Regions from separate parts of the Homo sapiens genome. Here all the other regions are linked to region 1. Evidence: promoter capture Hi-C in 16 types of primary human blood cells and fetal thymus (Javierre and others, 2016). All regions are on one chromosome and are shown on one strand. Each heading gives the region's core, a stretch centred on a gene start or on the middle of the fragment in contact. The rest is flanking DNA. Distances are from core to core; before and after follow the strand shown.

Evidence for each region. Contacts are between HindIII fragments. The CHiCAGO score rates a contact against its expected background, and 5 or more counts as called.
Region 2: a contact is called between a fragment that was not itself captured here and the fragment with the promoter of ARK2N in region 1, in 1 of 17 cell types (endothelial precursors). The highest score is 5.4, in endothelial precursors.
Region 3: a contact is called between a fragment that was not itself captured here and the fragment with the promoter of ARK2N in region 1, in 17 of 17 cell types (total CD8 T cells, monocytes, naive CD4 T cells and 14 more). The highest score is 31.5, in total CD8 T cells.
Region 4: a contact is called between a fragment that was not itself captured here and the fragment with the promoter of ARK2N in region 1, in 1 of 17 cell types (naive CD8 T cells). The highest score is 5.4, in naive CD8 T cells.
Region 5: a fragment that was not itself captured here is called in contact with the fragment with the promoter of ARK2N in region 1 in 3 of 17 cell types (M2 macrophages, naive CD8 T cells and megakaryocytes); the score reaches 7.8 in M2 macrophages.
Region 6: a contact is called between a fragment that was not itself captured here and the fragment with the promoter of ARK2N in region 1, in 1 of 17 cell types (neutrophils). The highest score is 5.2, in neutrophils.
Region 7: a fragment that was not itself captured here is called in contact with the fragment with the promoter of ARK2N in region 1 in 1 of 17 cell types (neutrophils); the score reaches 5.1 in neutrophils.

The regions. Positions count from the first base shown.
Region 1 is chr18:46,172,032-46,175,679 of GRCh38, reverse strand. It overlaps ARK2N (arkadia (RNF111) N-terminal like PKA signaling regulator 2N), which reads right to left and starts at 1,646. Exons shown (of 5, transcript NM_145055.5): 1 at 1,350-1,646. RefSeq lists enhancers at 633-762, 1,363-1,412, 1,443-1,702, 2,023-2,072. The HindIII fragment of the contact is 7,725 bases long and covers 1-2,462 here.
Region 2 is chr18:46,674,757-46,678,404 of GRCh38, reverse strand. It overlaps ST8SIA5 (ST8 alpha-N-acetyl-neuraminide alpha-2,8-sialyltransferase 5), which reads left to right. Exons shown (of 7, transcript NM_013305.6): 7 at 1-3,648. Among named protein-coding and RNA genes, the nearest start is that of LOXHD1, 19 kb to the right of the region's middle. RefSeq lists enhancers at 752-1,597, 1,598-2,445. The HindIII fragment of the contact is 1,927 bases long and covers 831-2,757 here.
Region 3 is chr18:46,658,504-46,662,151 of GRCh38, reverse strand. It overlaps LOC105372096 (a long non-coding RNA gene), which reads left to right. Exons shown (of 3, transcript XR_935430.4): 2 at 237-293; 3 at 1,255-1,952. Among named protein-coding and RNA genes, the nearest start is that of LOXHD1, 3.1 kb to the right of the region's middle. The HindIII fragment of the contact is 1,423 bases long and covers 1,066-2,488 here.
Region 4 is chr18:45,687,736-45,691,383 of GRCh38, reverse strand. All of the region lies in intron 7 of LOC105372093 (a long non-coding RNA gene), which reads left to right. Among named protein-coding and RNA genes, the nearest start is that of SLC14A1, 35 kb to the left of the region's middle. The HindIII fragment of the contact is 1,778 bases long and covers 1,510-3,287 here.
Region 5 is chr18:46,627,348-46,630,995 of GRCh38, reverse strand. All of the region lies in intron 4 of LOXHD1 (lipoxygenase homology PLAT domains 1), which reads left to right. Among named protein-coding and RNA genes, the nearest start is that of LOXHD1, 28 kb to the left of the region's middle. The HindIII fragment of the contact is 7,452 bases long and covers 1-3,648 here.
Region 6 is chr18:46,600,741-46,604,388 of GRCh38, reverse strand. It overlaps LOXHD1 (lipoxygenase homology PLAT domains 1), which reads left to right. Exons shown (of 41, transcript NM_001384474.1): 7 at 160-283; 8 at 2,922-3,172. Among named protein-coding and RNA genes, the nearest start is that of LOXHD1, 55 kb to the left of the region's middle. The HindIII fragment of the contact is 3,691 bases long and covers 29-3,648 here.
Region 7 is chr18:46,574,578-46,578,225 of GRCh38, reverse strand. It overlaps LOXHD1 (lipoxygenase homology PLAT domains 1), which reads left to right. Exons shown (of 41, transcript NM_001384474.1): 14 at 359-519. Among named protein-coding and RNA genes, the nearest start is that of LOXHD1, 81 kb to the left of the region's middle. The HindIII fragment of the contact is 7,960 bases long and covers 1-3,648 here.

The sequences.
Region 1 (3,648 bases), core at 397-2,896:
AATACAAAAATTAGCTGGGCGTGGTGGCGCGTGCCCGTAATCCCAGCTACTCGGGAGGCTGAGGCAGGATAACTGCTTGAACCATGTGTTTTTTTTTTTTTTGTCCTGAGACTCCTCAGGACATCAGGCAGTAACTATCAATTGTAGGCCTCTAAAAATGCTTGTTAAACCAAAAGGCAATGCTCTGATTACTGGAGGAATCTAGATTGCCAAGATCAGCAAAACTACATTAGAAAGTTAATAGCTTCCATCCTTAAAATATCCCAAGAGAAGAAAGGGAGTGATTCTGTTAGCATGTACCCAATACTACACAATAAAAGCCTAAGCAAAATTGGCAGATGTTTTTGTAATTAAGAGGTCCAACCTTGACGAAGTATCATCAGTAGGATTTTAATTCTACTGGGTAAGAGGATTCAGAAAGCAAAAGGTCAGGCAAAAAACGAAAAACCCATCCAAACAGAAACTGCTCAAGGATCTGGTAGGGCTCGTACCGATGTTCTCTACTTCAACCTGTGAGCATCAATTTTGTGATGGGGGCTGCCGGGGACGGGGGTCGGGGCGGGGGGGTGGACAATTTTAAAGTGAGAATGAATGGCTTGCGTAAAGGCGATAGTCTTTAACACGGGTTCGTCAGTGTACATCCTCGCCGGTTTTGAAATAAAGTTGACAAACTCCCCAGAAGCGGTCTATTTTGGAGACTGACACATCTCTCGCATTGACTGGAGGCGCCTGCCGACCGAAGGTAGTGGAAGCGCCGAGAGGCAGGCGGCGCCAAGCCTATAAGAAAGCCTTTTCTCCCTCCACCAAGGCCACTGCGGCCGCGGCGCCGGAGCTCTCCGCTGCAGGGGCAGGTGTCGGCGCCAGACCCCCTACTCTCGGAGCTGGCGGAGTTGCCGCCACTGCTTCCCCCGCGGGCCTAGGAGCCGGAAAGTTGCGTGAAGACAACTCCAGGGCCGTGAAGTCGCTTCCCCCCGCAGCCCGGGGACTGCGGCACCTCCAGCCTCCCCTCAGCACCCCCGGAAAAGGACTCGCCTCAACCCGGCCCCAGCGTCTGGGGGCTTGGAGTGCCGGAGCCAACTCCGCCGGGCCGGGAGGACGCTAGGGTCACCAACGGCGGACGAGCAAGGAGGTCGGAGAGGTGCGATGCCCCAGCGTCAGCCGGCAATCCAGGCTGCGAGTTCCCGGCGCCCACCAGCCAGGCCCGCTAGGACCCCAGCGTCCGGACGCCGCAGAGCCCTCACCGCGGCCCGCAGCCCTCCGATTCGCCCCGACCCCTCCCTGGGACGCAACCCGGGCCCCCCAACTCGACCAGTAGCCAGGCCGCGGCCCTGCGCCCCTTCCCGCCTCACCTGCGCTCCGCGGCGACTCCGTGCCTTCTCGCTCGCTTCGCGCGCGCCCCGTCGGGGCACGCACCGAACCCCCGGCCGGGACTCTTCCCCGCTGCGGTGACTCAGGACGCGACGGCCACCGCCGCCTTCTCCTCCTCGGAACAAGCCCCGGCAGCGAGCAGTGGGTCGCGGTCAGAGCCCCTGCCGGGACCAAAGTGAACCTCGCCGCCTCCGCAGCCTCTACCACCAAGTCCCTTCAGTCGTCCGCGCCGCCCCCAAGAAAATGTCACCAGAGGCCGTTCCGCTGGGCGCCTCACTTCCGCCCGGAAACACAGAGCCCGCGTCGGCCGGCTAGAGAGGCAGCTGCGCCGGAGACCTCTGGAGACTGGCGCCCGAGGCCCGAGAAAAGCCAGACAGCGCCATCTGGCGCGATGGAACCCGCGCTCCTCCCGCTGCAGACCGCGGGGCGTGAAGGCGCCGGCTCCCCGGGCTTCTTTCCCGCGCTCCCTCCTTCTGTTGAGACCGTCACCTTCCCGAAATGTCTTTCCCGGGGGGTGGGAAAGCCACTCAATGCAAGCCAAGGACAATGCCTTCAGCAAAGGACAGCGCTCCCTTTTCTGTGCGCTGCTCAGTACTCACCCCCTCCTGAAGCCCTTCCGAAAGCAGCTTGCGGTGTCTGAATCCCAGAGTCGCTCCAGCGGAGAGCCCGTGCCCTTCTCTCCCCGCTTTTTCGCGGATGCCGATAGCTGGGCTCGGGGAGACTCGGCTGAGCTCTTCTCGGGCAGCGGCACCAATATCTGCTCAAGTTTCTGTCCGGGCACCTTGCAGGCCTTGCAGATCGACCGCCACCTGCTGGTGGGACGTGGCCCGCTGGGGAGACCCCGCTCTGCCCCGAATTCCGCCTCTGCAGTCGCCCTCCGATTTGCAGTCAGCCCTGGGGAGGGTGGGGGAAACGAGGTGGACCCGAACCCCGAAGAAGGGGAGGAGGGCGCAGGCCCACTGGCGGGTGGAGCGTTTCCCAAGGAGGAGCAGGAGATGCTGAAGACATATCTCAAGACTCAAGATCTGGCCAAGGACCCGCGCTCCCCCAAAGCAAAGCAGTGTTTTGAGAAGAAAAATAATAATAATAAAGCTTTGAGGAGGAAAATGTAAACGGTCTTTACCTTTACAGAGCTGTGCTGGAACCTCGGATGAGACCCGTCAAGAGGAGATTCTGAAAATCTCACACCACTGGGTCCGCACTCCCCTAAATATCAGTCTCCCCCTTCAGACCAGGCCCCTTAGTTCCCCCACTTCACTCATTTTTTCTGACTGCCTACAGGAGTGCGAGTTTTTCATCCCCAACTACAAGAATAAATTAAGAAAAGAAAATAATTTTATTATACCAGGCACCTTGCATTTAAATGGGTTAAATCCACTGAATCCTCATTACAACTCATAACAACCCTATGAGTTGGATGGCGTTACTAGTCCCAAATTGCAAAGGTGGAAACTGAGGGACAGAGTGACCTGCCCAAGATGACACATCCAAGTAAGTGGCAGTGTTGGATTCCAACACAGGCAGAGCTTACTTTCTTAACCACAGCCACCAACTGCCTCACTGAGAATCACAGAGAACGTAGTGTGTGCTAGCTAAGTAGTTTATCCGTGTATGTTATTTCACTCGTTCATTCATTTATTTACTTTCTGCTACCTGAGTCCTCAAGGGATTTGAGAGGTTATGGGGTAGTGACAAGAGCCCAGCCTATTTCAGGAAAAAAAGAAAAGAAAAGGAAAAATCACACTAAGATCACAACTTTCAGTCTGGAAATGAATGAATGTGGACTAATACATTGAGTTTTTAAAAGATTCCTTGACAGTCTGATCTAATCAATGCTGCAGAAATACTGAAGTAGGACCCTGACTACTGAGATACCATCTTGGGTCCTTCTCCTGTTTTTTGTTTTTTGTTTTTTGCTTTGTGGTTGTTGTTTCTTTGTTTTTTGTTTGGTTGGTTGGTTTTGGTTTTTTGGTTTTTTTCTTGAGACAGAGTCTTGCTCTGTCGCCCAGGCTGGAGTTCAGTGGCGCGATCTTGACTCACTGCAATCTCTGCCCCCCGAGTTCAAGCGATTCTCCTGCCTCAGCCTCCCGAGTAGCTGGGATTACAGGTGCACGCCACCACACCCAGCTAATTTTTTGGTTTTTTAGTAGAGACGGGGTTTCACCATGTTGGCCAGGCTAGTCTCAAACTCCTGACCTCAGGTTATCCACCCACCTCAGCCTCCCAAAGTGCTGGGATTACAGGTGTAAGCCAGCGCACCCAGCCCCTTCTCCTGTTTAA
Region 2 (3,648 bases), core at 545-3,044, 500 kb before region 1:
GTGGAGAGTGCAGGCTTTATCCCAGGCCTCCAGGCTCCTGATCCAGGGCTCCGTTCTTGGCCAAACTTTTGTGTCTTGGCTTGGGCTTCCTGTGGGGGGGTTGTTGTGGAACCTGTGCCCTGTGCACAACACTGTTCTCAGTGCTGACTCTCACCTGCATTCTGAGCTCTGGTCCTGGTTGGGAAAACCTCAGGTGGCTCTGAGTCTCAGTCTGCTGGTCAGGAATGTAGGGGAGTAGCCAAGGGGATGAAATGATCCCAAACACCTGCTAAACCAGGAAGAACTGCAAAGGACAGTGGATGGTTATTACTTGCTTGAGCTCTGCCTATTTCTCCCAGGGAGGGAATTTCTGGGAAAGATTCCAGTTACCTGAGATTTCTAGCCACTGCATGGTTAATTGAACCCAGTTCTTGAAACCATGGAATATAAAAACTAGAAGGTTCTTAAAGACCATTTTGTTCCACTTTAGGAAACAGGCCCAGAGCAAAGATGTGACTGGGTCAAGTCATGCCTGGGGCTCTACTGAGTGCCTGCTGTGGACAGAGCCCTCTACTGGAAGCCCTCTGGGTACTAGTTATGTTCCAGATGGGCAGTGTTTGGGGGAGGCTCCCTGGTGACACAGACATCAGGATTCCCACAGCTGAGGGTGTTGCAGGTTGGAATCTGCCCCAGCCAGGGCCCTCGTAGGAGCTGAGGATTGGAGCATCGGGATCCAGCCCACAGAGGAGTTGGGACACCTGGCTGCTGGCCATATTCCTGCCTGTGGGTCTTAGGGCCAGTCCTTCCTCTCCCTCAATGTCTCAGTTTCCTCATCTCTACAACTAGAAGCTTTGTAAAAATCTTCAGCGTCTGTACAATGTCCTTATTTTGGGGGGACATTCATGATGAATGGATCTAAACCATAATTAATATTTCTCATTATACTAGCTAGCATTTATCAAGCTACGTTAAGCACTTTCCCTATATTATCTCCTGTAATCATCATGAGACCCCTTTGGGTAAGGAGGCTCCCATTGTACAGATGAGGAGACAGAGGCTTAAAGCAATTCCAGGACTTGCCCTTGGTCAGGCACCCAATGGAGGGAACGGCACCCAATGGAGGGAACTGCACCCAGATCTGTAGAGCCCCAAAGTCTGTGCTCCAAACCTCTGTCTTAGCTTCCCAGACAGTGACACCAGAACATGAGGGATCCTGACCAAGATGCCCCTGCAGGATAGTACGGGGCCCTCCTCCAGGGACAAATGCTCTAGGAGGCTGTCATCGTCCGGGAAGCAGCCTGTGCTTATAGGTGCCTCTCCCTAACCCTGCCGCCTACAGCAGTAGCGACTTACCCACAGTGGCACTGGAGGGGAACTGAGGCCATCGTCACATTTTTAAGGTGAGGAAAGATGCCCAGAGATAGCACATGTTAAGTGACAACACGAATGACTTGCCCAGGGCTACATGGCCAGCTTGTGGCTCAACTGGGACTCACCAGTCTCCTGACTTTCAGGATATAGTTTTTCTGCTGCAGCCAGTGTTTATAAGAAAAACATTTTTTCAAAGGCTCAGAGAGACCTGGTGTTGACTCTGGAAGCCTTCTGCCATGTTCCTCCACAGCCCTGTCACCACGCCACCATGCAGTGCAGACTACCCATTGAATTATTATTCAAGGGAAATCGATTCCCGTAAACAAAACAACCATCATGTCTTCCTTTGTGCTAAACCCACTGCTCCAGGCTTGAAAGGCAGCAAAAACAAGTAAATGACTCAGTGCTTAGCCAAGCACAAAGAAAGGTGGCTCAAGGTCAGAGGCAGCGTCTGAGACCATTTCAGCAATGCTGCTGCGGCAGCTCTGCCCACTAATCACCTGGTGCCCAGAGACAGCATGTGCTCATCGCCCTTGACTTTGCTGAGAGCAGGGAGGAAGCAGAGCAGTGCTTAGAAACAACTGAGGCAGAGTAGAGTGCTGGCCAATTTAGTGAGTGAATTGGTGAATAAATTATATTTATTGAGTGCTCATGTTGTGCCAGGCATGGTGCCAGGTGCCGGGGAGCTAGTGATGAACAAAACGTCGTCCCTGCCCTCCGGGAGTTTGTGGTCTGGTGTGTGTGTATACAGACGTTAAATGACGAATCCCACAAACGTACGTGGGAGCTGGTTGTGCTGAACACTATCAAATCCAGTCTCAGGGACAGTTATCTGGGAGAGGTGGAGGAGGGGATGACCAAAGTCAATTCCGAATTCTGAAGGTTGGCAGCATAAAAAGTGTAATGAGCAAAGCAGCAGATACTTCTCAGATATCATCCTTGACATCCGTGTAACATTTGACAAGGTTGGCCTCTCTGGTCTTTTTTGTTTGTTTGTTTGAGACAGAGTCTCCCTCTGTCACCCAGGCTAGAGGGTGGTGATATAAATATGGCTCACTGCAGCCTCGACACCTGGGTTCAAGTGATCCTCCCACCTCAGCTTCCCAAGTAGCTAGGACCACAGGCACGTGCCATTGCTCCCAGCTAATTTGAAAATTTTTTTTTTTTTGTAGAAACGGGGTTTTGCTATGTTGACGAGGCTAGTCTCGAACTCCTGAGCTCAAGCAATCCTCCTGCCTTGGCCTCCCAAAGTGCTGGGATTACAGGTGTGAGCCACTATGCACAGTCTCTCTGGTCTTTCTAAAGTCCTCTCCTCTTCTGTTTTCTAACTATTCTTCCCTGACTTTCCTCCTGTCTCTCTGAATGCTCCTTCTCAGGTTCCTTTGTGGATTCATCTTCCGTGAAGCTTCCTCAGGGTTCTCTTCTCTTCCTAGGAGCATTCCTGCAGAAATCTCATCTATTCAAAGCCTTAAGTATCTTCTGCCCTGGCATCTTAACCCCTCTACCTGCAGGCCAGTCCTCCCTAGGAGCATTGGAAGCATGCTCACTGTGGCCTCCTGCATGTCTGTGTCTGCACAGCATCTCAGACCTCAACATGTCCTCAACTGGTATAGTTAAAAGAACAATCTGAACTCAGAGTCTCCTCCTACTACTTCGTAGCTGTGTGAAATTGAGGGAGCTCCAGAAGCCCCTGGAGGCTCTGGACTCATCATCTGAAATGAGGACAGGATACCAACCACAACAGCTGTTGCAAAGCTAAGTGAAATAGTGTTGCACAATGCCTAGCACAGTGCCCAGCACAAACTAGACACTAGCAAGCACAGGTTGCCTTGGCCCAAAACTTGGATCACCTTTGCCTCTTCCTTCTCCTTCACTCTTTATGTCTATTTGTTCACTGTATCTTGTCAATTCCAACTCATAAACATCCCTTTAAGTCATTCCCTCCCTGCAACCCCTCTGCTACTGCCCTAACCCAGACCATCTGATGGATCTTTTTGCTTTCAGAGAATAACCTTCCAAAAATACCTTTTGTGGGGCCCATTGCCTACCTGTATCATAAACTTCAGGTTCTTTACCAAGTCATGCAGGGAATGTCCCAAGCTGGCTTACTCACCTTCCCAGAGATCCTCCTGCCACCTCCCTGCCCTATCCCATACTATTCCAGGCACCTTTGCACACTCTGTTCAAACACCTGGAATGGCCCTCACACTCCTAAGTTCCTCTCTCCTTCCTTTTATCTGGCCACTTTTGCAGAAGTCAGGTAATGGCCCCCTGCATCCTCCCCTCTAGAGACCTGGG
Region 3 (3,648 bases), core at 528-3,027, 490 kb before region 1:
GGCTTTTAAGGGGACCATGGAGGGTGATTCCTTGGTAAGTCAGCTTCTCCTGGGGTCCTTCAGATCAGCTGACATCAGTAGTTTCACTGGTATGCAGGACCTGAAAGGAGTATCTCAAAGGGAAATCTTCACGTTTTATAATGTTCAGATTGTTGGCAATAGGGCAGTTAAGGGGAACTATGCTCTTGTAAAAGAGAAATCTTCATGTTTTATAATGTTCAGATTGTTGTCTATAGGGCAGTTAAAGGGAACGATGATCTTGTAACAGGATCTACGTTATTCTGAGGCAACAGGTAAGGAACCACGAGGGGTGGGTCAGAGAGCAAGCTGACTTGCTGATGAATGCTGAGTGTGCTGCAAGCTTGGTTTATTTTCATTTCTCCCCCTCCCTTCTTTGCTGATTAATTTTATAAAGTTTATAGGGATGGTTTCAAACTCACGTAGAAAAGAGTTGCCCTGGCCATGTTCAGCTGGTCCTATAGATTGAGGCAGACCTGCCAGCTGAGCCCAGCATATATATGTCATCCCAACCCAGCCCCAGACATGTGAGAGGTAACACCATGCCACTGAGATTTGTATGCTTGCTTGTCGTGTGGCAATAGCTGGCTGACACAGGAATGCACACAACAGCTCTAACGTCAGCGTGAACTAAAGCCTGCAGAAGGAAAGCACCAGGCCCGTTTAGAAAACAGGGGTTTCTTCTGTTTATCCACAGTGTGGGTTTCATAAGGAGAAGGTTGGTCAGATTATAGAGGGTCTCTGCTATCAGCTTGAGGAGCTAGAATTCTATTAGTTTCATAGACATTTGTTATCTTGGTAATCCAGCATCTGAATCCCCTTCTAAAGTTTGAGAAGAGCACAGTTCCCAGCATAGCAGTTGGAAAGGCCAAATACTCTCTTTCCCAGCCTCCTTTCCAGCAAGGCTGTGGGCACATGACTTAGGCTCAGCCAATCAGATGCTCCGGCCCCAGACTGAATGGCAGAAGGCAGCAGAGTCCATTCTGGTGAGGGCGGCACAAACAGGCAGCTGCTGTGGCTCTAGCAGCAACAGCCAGTGCTGAAGCTTGTGGTGCACGCTGTACATCCAGGCCCAGCATTGGTGGAAGTCGGGTCCTCTCTGGACCAGCATGATTCTAGGCATCATTTCCAGAGTGTAGATCTCTGGGACATTCTGAGATCCACCTTCCATCAGCTTAAAAAAATAATTTTTCTACTTAAACTAGCCATTGTTGGTTTCTGTTGCTTTTAATCCAGAACTCTGGCTGAGAAAATTCAATTGCCGTGGGGCGTAAGCAAATGTTTTTGAGCTGGAGAGGAATATGACCAACGCCATCCAGCAGCAAGAGAATGTACTCTAAGGAGGAGACGGGCACAACGATATCATTTTGCACATTTGGACATGTCTGTGCACATGCAAATGGTCATTGGATGAACAACCTCTCCCTATTATCATAGGCTTGGGGTCCCACCCAAGTAATCACCCTGTCTGTCCTTTGTGCTTTTATCAGTACACAAGAAACCGATGGGACTCTACATCTTAGCTTTATCAATTAGGACTCCTCACCACCACTGCACAGTTCAGGGCCTTGTGCTATGCCTACTGAGGCCTCCTCCTACCTCTCCACAAATCTAGACCTTGCACTGGGATGAGAAGTGGGTCTGCAAAGCATGCCCTGAGCACCCGTTCACAGCCAGCTATGTGCAGGATCCTCACACCAAGGAGCTGGGGTGGGAGTTGAGTCAATAGCCAGGCCTGCACCATAGGCGTGACCCAGACAGGCCATCACATGGAGATGGAAAGGCAGCAGATAAGGCCACTTCAGAGAGACAGGGTGGAGCCCATGTCCTGCTCCTGAGACCAAGCAATGCCTCTTCATGCTTCCTTGCAGACCATTCCCTCCCACTAGTCCAGCCCTTGGCAACCATAGGCTTCTTTTTTTTTTTTTTTCTCAGACAGGGTTTTGCTCTGTTGCCCAGGCTGGAGTGCAATGGCACAATCACAGCTTACTACAGCTTATTGCAATCTCCACCTCCCAGGCTCGAGTGATCCTCCAGCCTCAGCCTCTTGAGTAGCTGGGACTACAGGTCTGTGCCACCAGGTTTTAAATTTTTTGTAGAGACTGGATCTCCCTATGTTACTGCTAGTCCCAAACTCCTGGGCTCAAGCGATCCTCCTATCTTGGCTTTCCAAAGTGCTGAGATCACAGGTGTGAGCCACTGCACCCATCAGGCCTGTTTTCTGATCCTATAGTTTTACCTTTTAGAGAATGTTACATCAATGTAATCACACAGCATGTATTTTTTCTGACCGCTTTTCTGCACTTAGCGTAGTGCTTTCCAGAGGCATCCATGTTGTAGCATGTTTCCCGACTCCCTTCCTTTCTATTGTTGAGTATTATTGCCTGTACAGATGTACCTCAGTTTGTTTACCCACTGGCCAGGTGATGAATGCCTGAGTTGTGTCCAGTTTTTGGTTATGAATAAAGCTTCTATGAATATTTACATACAGATCTTGTGTGGATATCCTTTTTCATTTATCTTAGGTAAATACCAAGGAGTGGAATTTCTGGGTTGCATGGGAAGTATTTGCTTTGCTTTATTTTCCAAAGTGGCTGCACCATTTTACACTCCAACTAGCAGTATGAGAGTTCTGGCTGCTCATGTCCCTATGAACTCTTGGTATTTGTGAGGGTTAATTTTTGGTGTCAACATGACTGGTTGTGCCCTCAATGTGGGTGGGCACCATGCAATCGGCTGGGGGCCCCGACAGAACAAAGAGGCAAAGGAAAGGTGAATGTTTTATCTCTCTCCTGGAGCTGGGACACCCTTCTTCTCCTGTCCTTGGGCATCAGAACTCTAGGTTCTCCAGTCTTTGGACTCTGGGACTTGCTCCATCACCCGCTCACCACCAGGTTCTCAGGTTTTGGGCCTGAGACTGAGAATTACACCACGGGTTTCCCAGGTTCCCAGGCCTTCAGACTTGGACCCACCACACTACCAGCCTTCCTACGTCTCCAACGTGCAGACTGCCTGTTGTGGGACTTCTCGGCATCCATAATCCCATGAGTCAACGCCCCTAGTAAGCCTCCTGTCATATATCTACTGATCTGTATATCCTAGTGGTTCTGTCTGTCTGGAGAACCTTGAAATAATACAGAAATAATATAGAATTATTTCCCTGACCTCCTAGCCAGTGTGTTCCAGTACCATGGGATTCTCTAAAAATATTTTGATTTCAGCTTTTAAAGTTCTAAGAAACAGCCGGGCGCGGTGGCTCACGCCTGTAATCCCAGCACTTTGTGAGACCGAGGTGGGCAGATCTCGAGGTCAGGAGTTCGAGACCAGCCTGACTAACATGGTGAAACCCTGTCTCTACTAAAAATACAAAAATTAGCTGGGCATGGTGGCGTATGCCTGTAATCCCAGCTACTCGGGAGGCTGAGGCAGGAGAATCACTTGAACCCGGGAGGCGGAGGTTGCAGTGAGCCGAGATCACACCACTGCACTCCAGCCTGGGCGACAGAGGGAGACTCCGTCTCAAAAAAAATTCTAAGAAACGTTTTATTATCTTTTCCCTGAATGGGTACTCGTGTAAAATGAGTTTTCTTAGTAGATTCCTAGAGATCCTTAAGGAAGGTCTCTTCCTGA
Region 4 (3,648 bases), core at 1,149-3,648, 490 kb after region 1:
AGGATGTGTGAGCATGCAAAAGGGCACAGAAGGTGGGCAGTGCAGATGAAGGGAAGGGACAAAGGTACAGAAAGAGCCATCTTCGTCCTAGGTACATGTAAGTTTCTGTCCCCTATCTCTTTGCAGACAACTGGGTTCACTGTCTCTTAATTTCAAGGAAAAGCATGCTTTTCAAACTTCGATATGCACAGGAATCACCAGGGATCCTGGGCGGGGCGGGGCGGGGGGAGGGGTGCAGTCTGGGCTCCAGCCCCAGTGTTTCTGACTATTAGGTCTGAAGGGGCCTTAGGGATCTGCGCTTTTTAACTACATCCAAGTGAGTCTGATTCAGGTGGTTCTTGGACCACACTTTCAAAAAGCAAAACAAAACAACAACACACACCTTAATATTTAAGTTTAAAAAAATGGACAGTTCAGAAACAAACTAAAATTGTGGCTTCTACATTCAGTTGCTAAAAAACACCCCAGAGGAATTCATAGGTTACTGTGTTATTTCTGCTCTGACCTGGTTGAAGATAAAAGCTACAAGTCTACAAAACACACACACCCCAACCATCCTGTTAGCCGAACTCTCCAAGATGAAATTAAAACAATCCAATAGCATTCAAGTCAGTAAGTCTACTCTTGCAAAAGAATGATTCCAAAACTCGAGGTGTTTGGAAGTGTACTCGTAGAGATGTTAATATGTGGACACACACACACACACACACACACACACACACGCCCTTCTCTGATAAAAGAAGGATAAGTGATTCATTAAAAGCACACTGGCATTAAAGTCTTTGAGAAGCCAATGCTAATGAAAGATGTTAAACTTTATTTGGCTTAATGTACCTGGATCTCATTGGATCATGTGACTTTTTCTTATTTAAAATTTTTTCTTTTGGATATGTATTTAAGATCCATGACTGATGAGTTATGGAAATACTACCTTAAAGCAAGAGGAATGTGAACTAAAGATTTTTCTGGATTCTGAAAAACAATCCCATATGCAAAAAAGAATAGTCTTTTCAATAAATAGTGCTGGGGCAACTGAATATCCACTTGCAGAAGATTGGGGACTCTACTACCATATACAAAAAATAACTCAAAGTGGATCAAAGACCTAAATATAAGAGCTAAAGCTATGAAACTTTCAGAAGAAGAGTTTTGTCTCCTCCCTAGCCTGAGCCCTTAACACTCAGACAGTTTCCATCTCTCCATGGAAGCCCATCCAGCACCCTTTTATTCTCCTCGGATAACAGTCTCAGAACCAGGAGTTCAAATAGTAAGTGAATCAAGCAGCACGGATATCCTGTGCTCAGTAATATGTTTGGTCTCCAAAGTATGTTGTGTTCAAGTAATTATAAGATGAGGTCTTTGACTTTAGAGTTTCCCATCTTGCTGAGCAAATAAGACCCTCCACCCAGGTGGCAGGTGATACCAGATAACATAAAATTGAATGTTGAATTATATGGTCAATATTAAATTTATGTAAAAACTAGAGTTTTCTTAAAGAATGCAGAAGCTTCTAAGACATTCATGAGGGAGGTAAATTGAAGTTTTTGGGGTGTGAAAGGCACAAACCATTTATACGTCCCTCAAGTTATGCCAAATCATATTTCCATTCTTTTCCCCCAGTGTCAACAGTAAGTGGGGTTCCCATGAGCTCCTCTCTGAGCCATTTGGGCGACTGCTGTGATGGTAAGGAGGGAGGGTGGGCATGGGCCACAGAAGCCATGGAGCCAGCTGCAGGTCTGCTGCTGCTCTTGACAGATGGTAGCCACCTGCCTCAATCCCCACCCCCGCAACCCCAGTCCCCGTCAGGGCCTTTCTAGGATAAGGCCTTACAGTGACTGGATTTGCAAGCTGCACACTGACCCATGGCCACTCATGCAATCATGTCCTGGGCTTCTACGTGAATTCTACTCAAATTCCTGTGCTGAGACCCCCTCTGTCTACCCACCTCCTTCAGTTCTTCAGATAGCCAGGAGAATTGGCCTTCTTAAGTCATTTGCGATGCAGGTAAAAATGCAGATACCCCATCACTTACTGAATCCCAATATCTTAGGGTTCAGGGGAGGTGCTAGAATCTGCATTTTGGTTAAACATTATCTTGCTTAGTACCCACCTCCTGGAATTAATTCCAGGCTTACAGGGATGCTGAAGTAGGGGTCCATCTGTCAGTAAATATGTATCCACGTGCCAGGCCTGGAATGGGGGCCATGAAAATACATAATCTGGCCCCTCAGAGGTTATAATGTGTTGGGGAAGATGAGTTATTCACAGGTTGTGGTGTGATGTGTTGGGCAGGAAGCCAAGTCATGGGGGTGCTCCCCACTCACACGCTCATGATTGGGTGAAATCCGGCTAAACATTGATTCAAAGAGCACCCAGGGGAGTATGCAGGGATGGGGAAAAAGCCAGCTACTCTTTCTGCCTTTCTCCAGTAGGGCGTTTCATGAGCTGATTATGAGTAGGGATCTGTCTGGGTCTTTCCTTTGCTCCAGCTGGAAAATCTACAAATATTTTGGTTGTGGGGTGCCTTCCTGGTTTGTTCCAGTCCCTGCACCATGGAGCCTGGGTGTGCTGGGTCTTCAGGATAGAAGGTGCCACCTCTCTCTGCACTTCCTTTGCTCCCTGGGGTGCTTGTCAAGTGAGTACCCCACAAGTGAGGCTCTGTGTATATTGGGGTGTTGTGTTGCTGTCTCATGCTGTCATGGGTGAGGAAGGAGTTTGAAAGCAGAGAACTAGCCCAGGGGGATCTTTGATGCTGCAGCCATGGGAGAGCAAGCTCCAGTTGCCACCAAGAGCTCAGCACAGGACCAGCTACGTAATTCATGGGGCCCAGTACAAAATGTAAATATGATTCATTTGTTCAAAAGCTATTAAGACTTGCAAGACACTGATGGGAGGACAGATGACAACAGAGAAGGCAATGCCTCTCTTTTGCTGGACATAACTTATAACTTTAGTATAACTGTGTCTGTCACTTACTCATTCACTGCGGGAGAGAGGCCCCAGTTAGGGGAATGTACAAAACTCATCGCTGTTCACAAGGAGTTCACAGTCTGTTCATGTTGAGAACCTGGGGCTAAGGCCAAGGAGCCACAGCGGGGCCTGGGAGAACAGGAAGCCAGTCCCTGAAGGCGGCTTGTGGCCCAGGAATGGTGATGGGTGCTCCAGCCACAGCCCAGACTCCCTGTCCTGCCCTCCAGGCTGTCACTTTAATCTTGTGTCCTGAGCTTTCCATCTTGCTGTATGCTAGGGTTAGAAACTAGCTAGGAATCAGTGTCTCTCTGGAAGCTTAAAAACAAGAACTACACACAGATGAGCAGAATAGGATTCACAGGTCTTTAGAGGGGCCAGGAACACAGCTTACATTTGTCCAAATCCAGAGGTTAAGAACTGTATGGTTACAGCCCTCCTCTGACCTCAGGGACAGAGACAATCTCCATTTGACAAAATCATGCTGCCTGGGGCTCCTCCCACTTGAGAGCTCTCTAGAGAATCTTCTCCCTGCAGCCCTGCACAGAGCAGCACAGCACAGCACCGAGCAGCCCCCACACCTTCTACTGATGGGGCCCCCTGGGGAGCTTTGGCAACCACCCCGGCCTGGGCCGCCCCTAAGGTTCTGATAGAGCTAGTCTGGGCTGTTGCCTGGGCCCC
Region 5 (3,648 bases), core at 408-2,907, 460 kb before region 1:
AGGGGCAGAGACCTGAGTCCTAGCCTCACACTTTGGTAATTATGTGACTCTGGGCAAGTTGCTCATCCTCTCTGGGTCTCTGTTTTCTCATCTTCTTACCAGGTTGCTCGAGATGTTCTCTGAGGTCCCTGTAGCACTGGCTTACTCTGACACTGTGCTAGCTAAGCACCTTCTTTCTTGCTTGCCTCCAGGTGTCTCCCACCCACTGATTTCACACCCCCCCCCATACCCACTTTGATGTTGTCCCTTTTGGTGAGACATTCACAGGACACAGTGCCCAGGTGCAATTCATAAGCCCACTGCAGAGTTGCCCAGGCTGAGAATGCAGGGCTACTCAGTCCTCTTTGACTTCAGGGAAGCCCTGGGCACATCCCTGCCTTCCCTATGGGGCAGTATTGAAGAATGAGGTTGGGCGAGACATCTGAGTTAGGCAAGGCCTGATAAGATGGCGTGTGCTCTCCAGGTAGATTTGGGATGACCTCATATTGGGTCTTGAAGGAGCTTGGGCTGGTAGGGAAGCATGAGCAAGACCTGTTTAAGGCAGATCCTGCCTGGCCTTCTCACGACCAATATGATGTCATTTCCTGCTTTCTGGCCAAGTAATTGCCCACAGCCCAGTGCCTACCCACAAACCCTCCTACTTCGAAAAGCACTGAGATGATCATGTGGCTTAGATTAATATTGAGCCCACACCATACTGCCTGGGGAAGGCTCCACCAGCTTGGCCATGAGACAGGCCTCTGAAGCCAAGAGCTGCGTTGCAGCTGACCTGGGGGCTGCTCACACACCAGGGCTGTCAGAACCCAGCACAACAGCTCAGAAATGTTTCAGACTCAGGCACTGGCAGAAGCAGAGAGGCCCCTTGCATTCAGAGGGCCCAGTCTTGAGGTGGGTCCTGATTCCACACCTGCTCTTGTTCTTTAGGTTTTGGGAAGGACAAGCCACCATCTAGGGGGCATGTAATCTTCTTGGGTAGATTAATAACAAATATGGTTGCAGCCAGTTTTGTTGTATGCTTCAAAGAGAAGAGAGGCTGATGATTACAGGAAAGGGAAGCCATAAGAAGAAACAACAACTTGGGCAGGTGGGCTGGGCGCATGCAGGTGGTGGGAGGGGTGGATGACGTTTACATCTGGACTCCCATTCTGGAGCAAATGAATTGCCTTTTTTTCTTTCTTTCTTTTTTTCTTTTTTTTTTTTTTTAATGCCCAGTGAGAAAGCTGGAGCTGGGGGCTGAAAGCTGCACAGCACTTGGGAATGGGTAGAAATGGAATTGTGTTTGTTTTCAGCATAATCACTGTTTCCATTCCTGGCTGTTTCATCAGGTAACTGGGTTATAGTTTTATTCCAGGCCATGCAGTGCCACACAATGATTATCACACAGCTCCAGATGTGTACCCGATCTTGACATGACCATGTTGGGCGTAGTGCCCAGGGTGCATTTGAGGGGAGAATGGGATAAGAAAGGGATGGTGATTAACGTATTAGGGGCATGTGCAAATTGTACCGCCCTGCAAAGGATTATGGACCTGCCAGAGGACTGCATAGTGCAAATGCAAAATGAAAGTACCCTGCATGATTGGAGCATAAAACACCCATCGCAAAGGCTCTGTCAAGAAGCCAGAAGCACTGACTTATTCCCAGATTCTATAGGATATTATCGTAGAGTAATTAAATCATTAATCTTAAAATAACTCTCTGGGTCAGAAAGCACATGGGACTATACATCCTGAGTTCTGGTTCTGGCTTTGCCACCAAATAGCAATGAGACCTGGGGCAGATCTCAGTTCCCCTCCTATCCTCAGTTTCTCCCTCTGTAGAGTGCCTGGACTAGGGGGTCTCTTGGAGTCTTTTCAGGATTACTAGAGTGTCCACTTTCATAACCAAAGGGAGACGGAGAGGTCAGGGCCAGCCCTCCTCCATGGGGGCAAAAGGAGATTGGCCTTTGGTGGCTTCCTTTCTACTGTGGATCTTTCTGCCCTATTTCATCTCCCCATACTTCCCATCTTCAAGATAGTCCCCCACCATGGACTCGGTCTCTGGACTCCCCTTCTCCATGGTCAAAAGCTAGCTCTGCCATTCTGCCACTTATGCTAGCATGAGCAGATGCCTTAAGCTCTGTGCCTCTATTTTCTCATTTGTAAAGTGGGGAGAACATTAATTTCTACCTGATAAGATTAGCTGGGGAAATGAGCATACAGGACTTAGTGCCGAGGCACAGAGTCAATGCTCAGTAAATGACACAATAGCGTGGTGCTTGTCCTTGTGGTTAAGCTCCTGATGTTTCCCTTTCTTCTTCCCCCACATCCAGGCTTTTTCTGATTCTGAGATGCACAGGCTTAAGATTCTAACCTCTCAGAAAGTACTCCAGAGCTACTCAGTGCCAGGTTCCCCTCTGGAATCCAGGCAGGTTCAAGCAGACAACTGGGAATAGGCTCATCACCTTGACTGCTGTTAAAGCCAGCAGGGAAAGCCTCTTTTCCCGACGCTTTGTCATTTTCCTTCACGGAGCACTCTCCAGGGCTCTCTGAGCCTATTTGCTGTGGGTGCTGCTTGGGAGTCATTGTTCCTTTGAACTCCATGGAAGAATTCCCAGGTGGGGGCAAGGACTCCAGGGTAGGGAGGGCTGGGCCAGCCCTGCAGCACTTTCCTCCACTGAAGCTCACAGCAGCTCCCCGCCCACCCCATCTGCTCCCACCTAGCACTGCAGAAAATCATCTCCGGAAAGAGGGGGAAGAAGAGAACCACTCTAAGTGAGGCCCTGTTGTGGCACATCAGAGAATTTAAGGACCAAAAGGGACTTTATCTACTCTTCCTCCATTTCAGAGAGGAGAAAATGGAAGCCCAGGGAAATTAAGCCCCTTGCTCTTGGTCACACAGCATAACTGTAGGGCAGAGCTGCAGTCTTGGGCTTTTGGTGCCAGCTCATGCTCCTCCATCATTCCTCCTGTTAAGCACATTCATTCAGTGATTCAATGGGCATTTTGCGGGGAGCCTTCTATGCACCAGAGCCTGCGCTCAGGGTGATTACATACAGGCCCTTCTCTCTAGGAGCTTAGAGTCTAGACGGGAGAGAGTCAAGCCAGTAGATAATCACAGTGCAAAGGGATAGAATATTCTAAGTGGGGTATGGCGCCCAGGCCAATGGGAGCATAGAGGAAGAAGGAATCAGGAGGCCTTTATAGAGGAGGTGATGCTCAAACTGAGTCTTCATGGGTGAGGAGTTTTCTAGGATTTGAAATGAAATGAGGGCACTTGGGGAAATGAGCTCTGATGGCTCAGTGTCACTCACACACCTGGGAATGGATCCTCCACCTCATATTTTCACTGTGGCCTCCACCCTCCCAGAACCACCACCAGCCACATTCTCTTTCAACCCAGCAGCCAGAATGTTTGGAGAATGCATGGAATTGTGTATTTGCTTCAAACTTGGTTATTTTTATCTTTAAATAGGTGTTTAAAATAGCCTTTTTTTTTCTGTTTGTGGAAATAGCACTTTCTCCATGTTGCATTTTGTACACACGAAAATCTGAACTGATGACACAGACACTGTCTTGGCCCTGATCCAGCTGTCAGTGTCCATTCCATTGCAGCACCAATGGCTTCCTGCTGGAACCCTCCCTTTAGCCACAGGTGTTGGCCAGTGTG
Region 6 (3,648 bases), core at 625-3,124, 430 kb before region 1:
GGACACAGTTGTGTCCTTGTGATAAGCTTTCCTTGGGCCACGAAACAGATATCAGTACATTCTTAAAGTAGACTCAAGTGATTGGAAGATTGGATTAGATCTCCAGGTGCACCCTCAACAACACTTATCTACATCCTTGTCCCCTCTTCTCCTTCCCAGATAGTCATTGAAGATATTGGGAACAAAAGAAAATATGACTTCCCCCTTAACCGCTGGCTGGCCTTGGACGAAGACGATGGCAAAATCCAAAGGGATATCTTAGTGGGCGGAGCTGAGACCACAGGTAGATTTGAAGAAAGGGGAGGCTCTTTTGGGTATTTCACTTTCTGCCTAAGGGTCGCTGTTGGCATCTGTGGGGCTGGAGGCCTGTGATCAAACAGGAGCCAGCTGGGTCTGCAGACAGCATTCCTCCTGCTCCTGAAACTGTTCTGTCCCACTGGGTTGCAGCCTGGGGCTCTGTTGTTGCCAGAGGACCTGGGGGATGCTGCTAAGCAGATACTAACTGCCCAGGGCAAAGGAAGGTATCCATAGGATGAAGCCAGAATGTGAACTTCTGACAAGCATGGATGTTTCCCAGGACATTGATCTGAACTCTTCCTGATATTGAGTGCTTAGTATATGCCAGGCCTTCTAGGTAGGTACCTGACCTACATGGTGTCCTTCAGTCCTCACAACCACCCTATAAAGTAGGAACTGTTATTGTTCCCATCACACAGATGAGGAAACTGAGGCAATGGAAGAGCCTTGTCCAAGGGCACACAGCTGGCAAGTGATAGATTCAGGATTTGGTCTGCTTCCTAAAGCCCTAACCTGTATGAATTCCACAGAAAACTTCCAACTCCCAGCATGGCAGTCATGGTCATGCATGTTCTAGAAAATCAACGTTGATATTGTGTACATCTGAGAATGTTCTCTGCAGCAGAACTCCCATGACTCACCATGGGAGAAAATCCATGTTCTGTAGTATAATGTACACATTTCTCCCCAATTTGGCTCCATTCATCCTACCCACAGAGTCTTCCCATACCCTCTCTCCCACTGCACATTCACACCTTCCATTCTTCCCTCCATCTTGCTCCCATGCCTTCCCTCTCCCCTCAACTCCCTGCTTGCCTTGCTCTTTCTCTCTCTCTATCCTCGGAACCTGCCTTCTCCTCATCCTGAAAAGTCTTTTCTCTTCTTTCTGCCTCTCGAATTCCTGTTTCCAGTCACTTCCTCTGAGCCCTCCCTGACCTTCTCTGGCCTGGGTAACTTCTCCCTTCTTTTGCTCCATGCTCCTTGGCAGACCTTTATTGCTGCTGTTCAGAAGCCTAAATGCTCCTCTGCTCCAGTCCTTTTCAACCTCAGCATTGCGGGCTGATCATTGTGAGGTGTGGCACAAGTCATCTACAGATGAAAAGTTTGCAGTTTACTTAAAAACATACTCGAATAGAATTAATATATACTGAATATGTGAATATTATATGTCTCCTAGTGGTAGAAGAAGAGCAGAAATGATAGCAGCTGGGCATTGCTTATATCCTAAACGATGAAAGTATATCTGATGTGGGAACACCATTTGTCCATGCATCTTAGAGAAATAAAGCTCGAGACCTATTTTTTTTTTCTAGAGCAATGACCATTCCTTTTTATTTATTTACTCCCAAAGGCCTGGAATCTAGTAAGCACTCAATAAATGCTGAACAAAAGAAAATGTAAGTTTAAGAATGAATAATACACCCATGTAGTTGCATGTATTATCACTCAAAGAAATTTGGGATTTTTATTTCTCTGAGGTTATGGGATAAGAGTGTGGGGTATGGTAGGGTGAGGGATGGGTAGGGGAATTAACAAGGCTTAAAGTGACAACCGCCTTAGACCCCAGGACAGAATTACAGAATGTAGGCCAGGCATGGTGTCTCATGCCTGTAATCTCAGCACTTTGGGAGTCTGAGGGGGGTGGATCACTTGAGGCCAGGGGTTCGAGACCAGTCTGGCCAACATGGTGAAAACCTGTCTCTACTAAAAATACAAAAATTAACCAGGTGTGGTGGCACATGTCTGTAATCCCAGCCACTCAGGAGGCTGAGACACGAGAATCGCTTGAGCCTGGGAAGTAGAGGTTGCAGTGAACTGAGATCACACCACTAGATTCCAGCCTGGGTGATAGAGTGAGACTCTGTCTCAAAAAAATAAAAAATAAATAAAATAAAAAAATCTAGGCCAGGCCAGTCCTTAGTAGAATTGCCTGTCCAAATGTTTGTCTTTGGTATTTTCTTTTACTTCGCCCAGTCCCAGAGTTTAATCTCCCTTTGCTAGTTCTTCCTCAGAATTCCATGTCCTCATATTGCCTCCTGATAGACCAGAACCTCAAATGGCCCAACCAACAATGTTCTCTCTCTCCCTCAATCCTCCTCACCCTACCACATCAGGCAGCAAAGGAGGACATTAATGTCCTCTATTAAAAGTTATGTTTTTAAGTTATCAGCAAAAGAGCAAGCGAAATGAATCAGATAGCCCTGAACGTAAATCTCCATTAATGGAGTTGACTATTATAATTAGATTAGACATAACAGAATTCATCTGGCAGCTATTAATAATGTACGCATGGTAATTATCATTAATAATAAGTACTATTCTTAGCCAACCCGAGTTCCTCCTTCTCTTTGTTAGTTTCCTCTAATCAGCACTGACAGCTTCCTGTAATAATACGTGCGGTTTATTCTCAAACTCAGATGCATTGGACACACAAACTCTGGAAAAGATGAAATGAGGTCGAGAGGGACATTAGGTGGCATCTGGAGGAGTAGGACATGATGGGGAAAGAGGATGTGTGGAGGAGGAGGGCTTTGGGGGTGTTGTAACCAGGAAGGGGAGGAGGGGGTGGGATATTATGATGCAGCTCACATTGAACACTCTCTTTCCTGTTGTTTCCACACCAGCTATTACGTATATTGTCACCGTCTTCACTGGGGATGTCCGGGGGGCTGGTACCAAATCCAAAATCTACTTGGTCATGTATGGGGCCAGAGGGAATAAGAACAGTGGGAAAATCTTCCTGGAGGGCGGCGTGTTTGACCGAGGCCGCACGGACATCTTCCACATCGAGCTGGCTGTCCTCCTTAGCCCCCTGAGTCGGGTCTCCGTCGGGCATGGCAATGTGGGTGTCAACAGAGGCTGGTTCTGTGAGAAGGTAAGGGATGCCCCCAGAGACAGCCTTCCCTGATTCAACCCCTCTCCTCTTTAACTTGCAAGTACAAACTTTAACCTGAATGCTACTTCTCTGAACTAGTTACAGAGTGCATGGGCAATCTCTTTCATTGGGCATTTTGGGTGGTTACGTGTCCGTCTATCTTGCCTCAAAAGTGGTCAGGAACAGGGGCTGTTCTGTGCAAGCGTCCAAGGGCCAAGCAGGACAGGTTACCCAGAGGCGCTCAGTTGGTGGTTATGATTATCCTGATTCCTGGTGTAGTGTTTCACCTCAGCTTATAAATCTTTCAATCAATAAGTATTTTAAAGTATATGTTTGTATTGTGGAATACTTATACTTTAAAGAATATATATTAATAACTGTAAGACATAAGGAATGTTAAAAAGCAAACCTCAATTTTGTCTATCACACAGCTTGAGAAATAGAACATTCGTGATGCTTTTAAACTCCTCTGTGTC
Region 7 (3,648 bases), core at 779-3,278, 400 kb before region 1:
TTCCCTCCTTGGAAGGGGCCCAGTATCCCTCTAGAGCAAGGAGCCAGAGGAGATTTGCCAAGGAATTAGCTCATGATAAATGATTGGTGACTGACAACAGCTTAACTTGTTTATTTTCCCAGAGGAAGCTGCCTTTTGAAAGGAGAGCTGGAAACTTGACATTGGATGATATTCCAGTGGAAGAAATTGGGGGTGGGTGTGAGCTGTGCTTTATAGGTAGCTCCTGTCCCATGTGTGAAAGAGGAGTTGCCTAACCCATCAGCTCTGGATTTTCTGATATCTGAGCTTATGTCTTCCCTTGGTGTTTGGGTCCTGGGGTAGCCACTGTCTAACTGGCCTTGTGGTTTCCCCCCACAAGGCTGACGAGTTCACTATCGAGTCTGTCACCATGCGGAATGTGAGGCGGGTGAGGATCAGACACGATGGCAAAGGCTCCGGCAGCGGCTGGTACCTGGACAGAGTGCTGGTGAGAGAGGAGGGGCAGCCTGAGAGCGACAACGTGGAGTTCCCATGTCTCAGGTACATGCGTCCTGCCTGCTGGTGTTTTCTCCAGCTTAGGTTATGATCCCTGTGTTTTGGGAAGACCCAGCCCTACTACCATGACCAGCAAGCAAAACAGTGGCTTAAGGCTATAGCTGGTGCAAGAAAGAGGTGACCTCGCTGGTGGTGCTTAGACCTGAGCCTCACATTCCCTTCTCACCCCCTACCACCGTGATGAACACCACTGTGGTGTGTTCCGGTGTGCTGCTAGTTTCCTCTATTTAAGCAACAAAATGTGGGTGCTTGTTCATGATAAAATTTGGCAATTCCTGAATTTAGGTGAAAGTTAGTTCAGAGAGTTAGTTGCAGATTGAATTAAACTTTTAAATCAAAAGTTTTTTTTTAATTTAAATAACTTTCTGACCATACCTCTTCCCTGTTAACTTCTTTTCAAGGTATCTTACCTTGTTTTCCTTTCTGCAATTTATTCATGAGATAAAGTTTCCTTTCTCTTTTTGCTTAAGCATTTGGGCTCCCATTGACTTAAAGAAGTCCCTGATAGAGAGATTTTAGAATGAGCAATACCAGTGTTTTTCATGTCATCATGGTGGCTCTCCACATTTTATGTGGCAATGTCTGGAGGATTCACACTGTATGATTGACTTGGGGCCTTGGACTGACCCGGCTCTGCAAATCTCAGTTCCAAGGCTGAGTTCTGTATGTAGAGATGAGTTGCTATGTGTCCACTTTATTAGGGCTGGTCCAGGGCTCCTCAAGGGTAGCTACACTGAGGACAGCCCTCCTTTGAGTGGATGAGGGTGAGTTGCACAGCTGCCCAGTAATGAGTGTGTTGCTCTTCCTCTTACCATGAACGCAGATGTACTCACATGCATGCCTGTGCCTACAGGCGCACACACACAGGCACACATCTGCTGCAGCTGAATTACTTAGCACCCCACCAACCCAGGCCCAGTAGTTTCCCAGCCACGGAGGGCCACTGGGAGGGCTCCATAGGTCAATGATTGTGAAACAGATTTTGTCAATGACAAAGAGCTCTACAGTCTTCTACATATAGCACTGTTTGTATTACAAGGAATTACATTGAAAAGGTAAGTAATAATGCAGGCAGCTCCAAGTGAGTGGCACTAACAGAGGGCAGGCCAGGCAGGCTTCCAGGAAGAGATGGAAGTGCACCTGGGCCTGGAAGGGAGGTCAGAGAGTGGACAGAGGGAGAGGAAAAGGGAGGGTGGGCCACCTAGGCTGAAGAAATGGCATGAGGCATGAGCAAGGGGCTGAGGGGTGGCTCATCCAGAGGTTGGCAAGGGGCGCCTGGCATGTGGGGAAGGAGTGAGAAGGCTGGGGTGGGAGAGGGTGGAGTGTGAACCCTCATTCTCCTAAGCCACGGGGGAAGCGGGGTGTGGGGGAAGAGTACAGCCTCGCTTCAAGTCATTACTGGCGTTTTCACCCCCATCCTGGATCAGAGGCTGACTGGCTGGATGCCAGATGGAAGAGCTTGCATTGTTTTATTCCTATCTACTCAAAATATATTTATACCTACTATATACTTACTCCCTGTCCTCATGGAGTTTATAGTCTAGAGGGAAACTAGACTAAAAGCAAGTGAATAAAGCCAGAATGACACACTGTGAAGAGTGGCGTGGAGGAAACACACAACGGTGCAGGGGCTGGAGCCGGGGCTAGAAATGGGAAAGGCCTGCCTGCAGAGGGATGTTGAGGCTGGCCTCCTGTGGAATGAAGAGGAGAGCACCAGGGGAAAGGACTGGAGTGTTCTGGAGTCCAGCAAGACAGGCAGGTAGATGGAGGCCACTGTCCGGCAGGGCGAGGGAGACTCTTGCATGCGAGGAAGGCCTGTCTGGCCTCTGGGGATAGGACAGGGCCCAGGGAGGAGGGGAGAGCAGTAGGAGATTTTGGGGAGTTGATGACGGCATGTGTTCATGTTCCAGGGCTGTAACAAAGTGCACAGACTGGGTGGCTTAAATGACAGAAACATAATGTCTCACAGTTTCGGAGGCCAGAAGTCCAAAATCAAGGTGTCAGCCAGGCTGCACCCCTCAGAAGGCGCTAGGGAAGGATCTGACCCGGGCCTATGTCCTCACCCCAGCAGCCTCCAGAGTTCACTGGCTTGTGATTGGCCACCTTCTCTCTGCGCCTCCTCACAGCATCTTCCTCTATATATATCTGTGTCCAAATTTTCCCTTTTCATAAGGATACCAGTCAGATTAGATGAGGGGTCACCCTAATGACCTTATTTTAATTTGGTTACATTTGCAATGACCCTATTTCCAAATAAGGTCACATTCTGAGGTACCGGAGGTTAGGACTTAAATGTATGAATGGGGTGGGGTGGGGGGACACAATTCAGTTCACCACATAGCAGCTTGGCCCTTAGTGGTGGCAGTGAAGGTGGTGAGACGGGGCTTATTGTACACCAGAGAGGACCCTGGAGGGACAGTTCATGGGCCTTGCCCATAAGAGACAGAGAAAGGGCCAGAACTGAAAGCCCCAGGCTTTTGCCTTTGATAGGTGGGTTGAAGGTCATGCCCTTTACTGAAATGGGGATCCTGGGGAGGGAGAGCTGAGGGGTGGGGACGAGGTTGGACTCTGGAGGTCTAGTTGGGATGTGTTTGGTTTTCAATGCAGAGTTAGGCCTTGAGAAATGAATTCAGAGAATAAGAGCATAGAGCTAGAATTTAAAGCCAGGGAACTGCAGGGGATCCTTTAGGGAGAGTGTGGATAAAGAAAACAGTGAGGGCCGAGCCCTGGGGCAGGCCAGGAGAAGGAGCCTGGAAAGGGGAAGAGGAAGAAGTTGGTGTGTGCACACTGCATTGTCACATGCATGGTGCTGGGGGAGCTGGGAACCAGAAGTCTAGCCGTCCACCTGCTGTGTGACTTTGACCCAATCCCTTGTCTGGTCTTCTGCACCTTCCTGGCCAGCATGTGTCTTATGGTGAGGTTGAGGGTATTGTACTTTGAAAGGAGCCCATTAAAGACACAGTGGTGCTGATGATGCTGATGGCTGGGCGGAAGAGAAGCGGAGGCCTCAAACACTCCAGAGTCCTCCCTGCCCCCAAACACTTAACAGTGCATGCATTTTTTTTTTTTTTTTTTTAGAAAATGGGTTCTTATGTCTTGCTGACACATGTAGTG